Regions from separate parts of the Homo sapiens genome. Here all the other regions are linked to region 2. The links are contacts of gene promoters, found by promoter capture Hi-C in human tissues and cell types (Jung and others, 2019). All regions are on one chromosome and are shown on one strand. The core of a region is centred on a gene start or on the middle of the fragment in contact, and the rest is flanking DNA. Distances in the headings are between cores, read along the strand shown. Region 1 overlaps KIAA1549. Region 2 holds the start of TMEM213 (transmembrane protein 213). Region 3 overlaps ATP6V0A4 (ATPase H+ transporting V0 subunit a4).

The links. Contacts are between HindIII fragments. The study calls those that stand out against the background at their distance.
Region 1: a fragment that was not itself captured here is called in contact with the fragment with the promoter of TMEM213 in region 2 in 5 of the 25 tissues and cell types used here (H1 embryonic stem cells, aorta, mesenchymal stem cells and 2 more).
Region 3: a fragment that was not itself captured here is called in contact with the fragment with the promoter of TMEM213 in region 2 in 2 of the 25 tissues and cell types used here (H1 embryonic stem cells and liver).

What each region holds. Positions count from the first base shown.
Region 1 is chr7:138,892,224-138,894,923 of GRCh38, reverse strand. It overlaps KIAA1549, which reads left to right. Exons shown (of 20, transcript NM_001164665.2): 10 at 398-582. Among named protein-coding and RNA genes, the nearest start is that of KIAA1549, 88 kb to the left of the region's middle. The HindIII fragment of the contact is 4,051 bases long and covers 1-2,700 here.
Region 2 is chr7:138,796,696-138,799,395 of GRCh38, reverse strand. TMEM213 (transmembrane protein 213) reads right to left here and starts at 1,402. Exons shown (of 3, transcript NM_001085429.2): 1 at 1,210-1,402. The coding sequence starts at 1,291. It overlaps ATP6V0A4 (ATPase H+ transporting V0 subunit a4), which reads left to right and starts at 1,200. Exons shown (of 22, transcript NM_020632.3): 1 at 1,200-1,362. RefSeq lists a silencer at 1,138-1,432. The HindIII fragment of the contact is 6,104 bases long and covers 1-2,700 here.
Region 3 is chr7:138,726,762-138,729,461 of GRCh38, reverse strand. ATP6V0A4 (ATPase H+ transporting V0 subunit a4) reads left to right here. Exons shown (of 22, transcript NM_020632.3): 18 at 600-701. Among named protein-coding and RNA genes, the nearest start is that of SVOPL, 27 kb to the right of the region's middle. The HindIII fragment of the contact is 5,302 bases long and covers 1-2,700 here.

The DNA of each region.
Region 1 (2,700 bases), core at 23-2,522, 96 kb before region 2:
CTGTTTTTCTCTCCACTTTTGAAGAGAACTGCCTTTGTACAAAGTTGTGCAGAACCAGTTTTGGTGTGGAAATATCCTGCAGTGATAAGTTACGGGTGAGCTAGTAGAATAAACTGGAAATCAGGAGACCTGGAATTAACTGAGCTTTGCCATTAATTCAGCCATGTACCTTTGGATATATCCATATGTCGTTGTGATCCCTGATGTATTCTAGATGTAACATTGTATGTTGTGTTTCTCTGCTGGTCACATTTCCTGTCATCAGGAGATTAGAACCTGGAACCAGCTATCTTGAGCTGGAATGTCAGGGACTTCTGAGTTTCTCATAGAAGACACGTGCAATCTAGTGCATGAGTGAAGAAGGAATTATTGAAAGACCTTTCTTCCTTGTCTGCAGCTGTCGACAGGGTGAAGAGGCCGTCTCCGGAATCCCAGAGCAACAACTTGTGGGTCATTGTTGGCGTGGTCATCCCAGTGCTGGTGGTGATGGTGATTGTTGTCATCCTCTACTGGAAACTATGCCGCACAGACAAGCTAGACTTTCAGCCTGACACTGTGGCCAACATTCAGCAGCGTCAGAAGGTAACGGGCAGCCTCTTCCCCCAGTGTTCCTATAAGCAGTTTTGTGGGGCAGGGATAGGATGAGTTTGGGCTCTTGATACTGAAAGATGAGGAAGAGGGAGGGCTATTATGGAAATCTTCTGGCTTTAATAGTGGTATCACTTTGCCTTTGTTTCTGCTTCCTGAAACCCTCCTTCTGTGGTAGTAAATACAGTCCAAGAATGTGAAACTGTATAAAAGCCTAGCCATGACATGCCCTCCGGGTTCTACTATGATTTTATTTTGTATTTTTTGAGACAGAGTCTGGCTCTGTCACCCAGGCTGGAGTGCAGTGGCGTGAGCTTGGCTCACTGCAGCCTCCGCCTCCTGGGTTCAAGCGATTCTCCTGCCTCGGTCTCCGAATAGCTGAGATTACAGGCGTGTGCCACCACACCTGGCCAGTGTTTGTATTTTTAGTAGAGACAGGGTTTTGCCATGTTGGCGAGGCTGGTCTCGAACTCCTGGCCTCAAAAGATCTGCCTGCCTTGGCCTCCCGAAGTGCTGGGATTACAGGCATGAGCCACCGCACCAGGCCGAATTCTGATTTATTTTATCCCTGGATATTTTCAGAGGATAGGAGCCAAGGCAGACTTTCTCAGATCTGTTTATCTATTTTGTGTACAACTCCATTGGTCAGTTGCTTTATTTTCTGTTCACCCTATTTGGAAGCCCACTTACCCACCTTGATCATTAAAAACGAACAATACATACCTTGAACATTTTAACTTAAAATATATGAATGGACATTTATTTGCCAATCCTTCAACATATCCCAAGTCTTGTTTTGTTTTGAGTGTTGGTCTACTGAGAGGAATTGTGTTTGGTCTTTCTTACAATAAACAACACCCATGACGTGTCAGTTTCAGGTTCCAGTTTGGGTTTCTTTAGAGAAGAGCAAAGCTACCTGAATGCAAAGTTCTCTCGATTTTTAATACCTCCCCCCACTCCCTATCTTAGAGAAGAGCAAAGCTACCTGAATGCAAAGTTCTCTCGATTTTTTTAATACCTCCCCCCACTCCCTATCTCCTAATTTTGCAGACTTTTGAGTTAATTCACTCACACCTAATTTGACAGCAGATTTTTTAAGTAACCCCTCTTTCCTATGTCTTTCCAAAGCATTCAACTTAAGTGTTTATAGAAATAGCAATTTTCTTTTCCAACGTATGTTTCAACAGTTTCCATAGTATTCGAGGGTCACATCAGGTTTCAGAGCAAAGACATTGACTTTTGGTCAACATTGAGCTCACCTGGTGTGAGCAAAAACATGCCAGGCCTAGAGGAGCACTCACTAGTACAGCATAAGTATCAGTCAGCGTGTTTACCAAGGGAGTGGAACGTGGTAGTCAGTCCACTGTTACTAACAGTCTGCTGGATTAACATGCACTTTCCGTGGGTCTCCCAGATTTGGAGGACTCATCCTGCTTTAAAAGCTTGATAAAAACAAGCAAAAGTCAAAAAACAAAGAATAAAAGATTGCCCTATTTATTTTTAAACTTTATTTTGGTTGTCTTGGGTATGAAAAATTCTGCATATTACAAACCTAGACCTGTCGAATGGAAAAAAAATATGCATTACTTTAAAATTTATTTTACTTTTGTAAAAGCAAAGAAAGAGTATTTGTCTTTTCATATGAATTAACAAAAAAATGCAAAGTATTTATTAAATTGCAAGCTTATGGCTATCAAGTACATGAAAAGCATTTTATACATTAATGTTATGTTTGTTGCCTATCTTTGTTTATTATTTACACAGTCTGCTAAGGTTCTTTTGTTGTTCTTGTTATACTGGTGAATGGCATGGGGAAACCTGGAAAAAAAGTGCTGGGTATACTAAATGATTCATAGTGTGAATTTCACTGTAATAAGATCAACAATAGGTTTGGAAATGTTTTTGTTCTGTTGAAGAGTGTTGTTACAGAGGGAGTTAACCAGTGTAGACGGTTATGTATTTAGGTCTTTTATGGGCCACATTTCCTAACGTATACACTGCCATGGAAGTCCATCTATTATCTGTAACTTCAGTAAATTATCAGAGCACAGCGTCTCTTGGGGTCAAAATGGAATATTCCCCAAGCTTTCTCCTTCTCTCACTTTTACTTCC
Region 2 (2,700 bases), core at 153-2,652:
TGCTGGGAAGACCCAACGATTCAGTGCAGTTAAACTTGTCTTCTGATTCTGAGCTCCCATCATAAGCAAGGCACTGTCGGGGTAAGTAGAAAGAAACTCAGCACTCTTATTTGGGGAGGGGTGAAGTTGGAAAATAAAATGAATGTGCTTACCATAATTGCTGACATTCACTGTGTGTGTTCTATGGGCTATTTCTAAGTTCTTTACATGAAATTACATCAATTCGTCTTGACAAGCACTATGATTGTCCCCATGAGATAAAGGAGGAAACTTGGCATAGAGAGGTAAAGTCATTTGCTCGAGGTCGCATAGCTAGTGAGTCATGGAAGCTGGACCTGGGTTCAGGCTCAGCGGCTCAAGAGTGCACGTCTTGAACCTCAACACCAACACCCCTGGCAGTGGCTACAGAAGAGAGTCTGAGGATGAGAGGGGCAGACACAGGACTTTGGGGGCAGGGTTGGTTTTGGGAGCAGGAGTGTTGCAGGGCATAGAGAGTGTGGTGGTGTTCTGAGGTGGCTGAGAACAAGATCAAAGCCAGGAGCAGAAGATGGTAACCAAGGTCCCTCTGCCGTGAGTTGCAGAACCCGGCCTGGCAGGGCAAGGCAGGGGATGTAGATCAGCCTTCCAGCCTCCACAGGAAAATGGGGAGATAACCCAGCATTTCCAGTGCCCGGGGAGGCAGGAGGGTGGGAGACAGTGAATGGCAGCCCTCCTGGCAGTCAGGTTTTGTGAAAGTCGCAGAGAAAGTACAAGGGGCAGGGAGGGATGGAGGACTTAGGAAAGGGAAGGTCAGACACAAATGTGCACAGGGAGGATTGCAAAGCACGACAGCCCAGTGGGGCTGAGAAGGAGCCTTCAGGACACAGCGGACCAAGAGATATCATTTTGGTCCCCTGATGGGTGAGACTCCAGCAAATAACTTTTTCCTTTCTTTGTGGCAAAGGCCAAGAGAGGTGGCTGCTCCTGCCTTAGCTGAGGAATTGAGTATCTGATCTCCGTCTCAGGCCAACCTAAGACCCCCCCTGCCCCAGCCCCACCTCCCACCCCCTGCCTAATCCTTCAGATGAGAAAGTTCTGTTTCCTCCTTCCTTTGCGCAGGACCAACCCTGGCCAAAGAATCTTCCCCCTCCTCCTTCTTTCCCTCCCACCTCTCTTCCCTCCTTCCCTCCCCCTTCCCAGCCTGGCCATGAATAAAGCTCATAACGCTACCTGCCGAGCAAGCCGAGTGGAGGGAGGCAAAGGCCAGGCTGAGGATCAGGGTGGCCCGGGTGGCAGCGGGGAGGCGCTGCATGCTGGAGGCTGTGCTGAGTGCCCGGTGCAGGTGAGCCGGTCCTGCGGAGTTGTGCCGAGTGCCTGCTGCAGGTGAGTCGACTCCCACCTGCAGGAGCTGGAAAGCAACTCTGCCAGAGGTGAACTTATGCTGGGTGTTTGGGGGAAACACCATGGGGTGGAGCAAAGGAAACTTGGCCTGTCACACCTTCTCTCACCTCTCTAGAAGGGAAGCCAAACCGTTGGCTGAGGAAGGAAGGGAGGGGCAAGCTGTGCCCTTCTCCCCTGAGCGCAAATATTGTCCTTATTGAGAAACAAGGGGAGGACAAGAGAGATCTGTGTCATGCTGGTTCCTGGGACATGAGTTTGCTGCCTCTCCCATCTGCAGGTGTAGCATGGATGCTCAATTCCATTTGGGCCAATATTCACTGAGCACCCACTATGCTGAAGTTGGGAGATACCTGCTGTCGAAGTGCGTTAATTACAAACACGCATCATTCAACCCCAGAACCGTGTTTGAGGAATGGCTTGGGAGGATAAAGCACTGTGGGTTTCAACAGTGGAGGCCACATCTGCTGATGGGATGCTTCAAGAAGAAAATGGCATTTGAGGTTGGGCATGGGGGCTCACCCTGTAGTCCCAGCACTCTGGGAGGCTGAGGCAGGTGGATCACTTGAAGTCAGGAGTTCAAGACCAGCCTGGCCAAAATGGTGAAACCCCATCTCTAATAAAAATACAAAAATTAGCCAGGTGTGGTGGTGCATGCCTGTAGTCCCAGCCACTTGGGAAGCTGAGGCAGGAAAATCGCTTGAACCCGGAAGACAGAGGTTGCAGTAAGCTGAGATGCTCCTGACCCTGCATTCCAGCTTGGCCGACAGAGGGAGACTCCATCTCCAAAAAAAAAAAAAAAAAAAAAAAGAAAATGGCATTTGGCCTGGGCCTTGAAGGATGGCTAGAATTTTGACAGGGGGAGAGGGGAAGATGGCATTATAGGTAGAGGGACAGATGAGCAAAGGTCCAGAGGTAAGGAAGTGTCAGAGGGTGGCTGTACCAGCAGCACCCAGAAGCGCAGGTGAGCCAAGGCATGTGAGGTGGGGAGGCAAGAGGAGAGCTGTGGGCTAAGCTTCTGCGTGCCTGGTAGAGGAATTTGAAACAAAGTCAGGAAGCAAAGGGGAAGGTTCTGTAGAGATTTTGAGCTGAGGAGTAACTTGACTAGAGCTCTGCATTCCGTCTAAAACATTTATTGAAGACCCACATGTATATAAAAGGTCTCATCCTAGGCACTGGAGACTGAGATGACTGAGACACGCCTCTTCCCCTTGAGAGCACAGTGCAGCAGGGAACCAAACCCGGAAGAAAGAAATTTGATGCAACCTGGCAAGACTCAAATAGGGGTACCTTCCACTGTGATGGGAATAAAAAGGAGGATGG
Region 3 (2,700 bases), core at 94-2,593, 70 kb after region 2:
GTAACCCAGAGCCTGTTGAGTAAATTGCCCACATGGAAGGGATGAAAGTCAGGTAGCGATGGTGAGGAACTTCTTTTTTCTTTTTTAAGAGATAGGAGCAAGAGAGCTCAGATAATTTTCTAGGACTCAAAATATAAAATTACCGGTTGAATACTGTTTGTGACTTAAAGTGACCCAAGGACTTTTGAGTACCACCGAGTGACTGGTAAAGTCATGAGGCCTGCCATAGTTTTCATGCAGGCCCAGGTGAAAACGACCCCCATGGGACAGAGTTCAAGACAAGGGGTGCCTTTATAATGTTTCATGCGTACTTCTTGTTTAAAAGATTGGTTACGTATGGTACAAGGGACTACTCAGAATAAGGAATACAGAGAGTTTCCAGTGTCTACCCCGTGTCGAACATTTGGAAACACTGGACAGATATTTCTCTATCTGCAAGGGGAATATTCCAGGCGTGAAGGTGAATGGATTCATTGAAATGCTTTAGATCTCTCAAAATAAAGTGCTAGTGAAGTGGCCCATAGTGGTCATTTTCATCACGTAAAGTGTGCTGTTCTGCCATGTGAAAATGATGAGATCTCGCCATTTTGGTCTTGCAGCAAGAAGTCCAAAGTTTCTTTGTGGTTATGGCTTTGATTTCTGTGCCGTGGATGCTTCTGATTAAGCCGTTTATTCTTAGAGCCAGTCATCGGAAATCCCAGGTAAGGGCTGTTTGTTTCAGTTCACCCTACTTTGCATAAGAATGTGGGTTTCTGGAAAGATGAATCTTGGGTTTAGAGAGAATCGTCCTGGGCTGCCAGGGCCAGAAGAATGGTGTTGAGGAACTGACCCGCCCTGAGTATGTTTCGTTCTGTGGAGCTAGACTTTTCCACTGGGCCGTCTTATTTCCAACGAGATGCTCTATTAAGGGCAAACACGTTTAAGCCTTATGTCTCGGCTGGTCGCAGTAGCCCACGCCTGTAATCCTAGCACTTTGGGAGGCCGAGGCGGGTGGATCACCTGAGGTCGGGAGTTTGAGACCAGCCTGGCTAACGTGGCGAAACCCCATCTCTACTAAAAACACCAAAATTAGCCAGGCATGGTGATGGGTACCTGTAATCCCAACTACTTGGGAGGCTGAGGCAGGAGAATCACTTGAGCCCAGGGTGGTGGGGGAGATTGCGGTGAGCCGAGATCACACTTCACTCTAGCCTGGGCGAAAGGGCGAAAAACCGTCTCAAAAAATAAAATAAAATAAAATAAACCTTATGTCTGACAGACTTTGTTCAGGGTGTATGTGTGCTGAGTCTCGTGGTAGTTAATGATTTATAAGGGTCTGAATGTGGTTGTTTTATTAGTTATAAATAATATTTTATTATGATTTTACTTTTAAAACAAATATTAAAAGCTTTTTTCATTAATATTCTAAAGTTGTGAGACTTTACTGTATTATGTTACAGATTGTGTCAGGGAATTAGAAGAGTAAACAAATTCAATTAGGTCAGTTTTTGTTTGTTTGTGATTTTTCCCCTGTTGCCAAATACCAGGTTCAGCCCACTTTCTCTTTTTGTCTAAACTGCCCCTGAGCCTTAGATGTACTAGGGGGGTGAAGCAGAGTTTAATATCAGCCTGAACCAAATAGGATTTAGTAAGATTAACCTTCCAGAGGACATCAGCGTCTAGCTCTGACACACAGACGGTTTGAGATGGTCGTTCTCTGCTTTCCTCTATTAGTGCAAAAGATTAAGCGGAATGTGCTGAGACCGTGTATGTTTTAAATGGTTGTAGATATGTTCAGATTAAATTCTATTTTTCTGAGATCTTTGTTGGATATTGACCTGGACAGGCAGCAGAGTCAGGGACCTAGACATGACGAGACTTGAGTTCAGGAAGTTTGTCCCTATGTGACGCTCTGTTTCTCTGTCACCTGCCTCTCCTCCCACTGTCTCCTTATGCCAGTCCGAACTCGTTCCAAAGCTTAGCTGAAACGTAATCTATATGAGGTATTCATAAAGAGGAAGACAAAGCAAGGAAGACTTGGTTATTGTTTGGTTAACTGGTGGGAGAGCAAGGTGGTTGAGGGTTGTTGAGGTGGGTGCTTGTCCAGACAGGTGACCAAGTATTTCAAAGAGGGTGGCAAATACCTGTTTGGAGAAGTAGATGCAAGTTTTTTTTGTTTTGTTTTGTTTTCTAGAGACAAGGTCTCTCTCTGTCTCTGAGGCCAGAGTGCAGTGGCTATTCACCAGCACAATCATAGCTCACTGCAGCCTCCGACTCCCGGGCTCAAGCCATCCTCTTGCCTCAGCCTCCCAAGTAACAGGCATGCCCCCCTGCCTGGCTCAGCATTTTTTTTTTTTTTTTTTTTTTTTTGAGATGAGCTCTCACTATGCTGCCCAGGCTGCTCTCAAACTCATGGCCTCAAGTGATTGTAATTTTTTTTTTCTAGGAACTAAATCTGTCCATAAGCCAAGAGCCAGGTTACTGCAGGCTCTCCTGAGTTCCAGGACTGTAAAATAATAGCTTGTCTTGCTCTTTGTACCACACAAGCTCTTTAAATAGTTGCTGATCTCAAAGTGGTAGATTTCTCCTTTGCGCCACCAGATGACTTAAATAGAGGGAAGGAGGGAGAGAGGGTTTTCCTAGTCTGCCTTCATGGATGATAGCTCTGAAACTGACTGGTAACAGGAGCTCCTGAAGACGGCGTGGAGGCCTGTTCCCTTG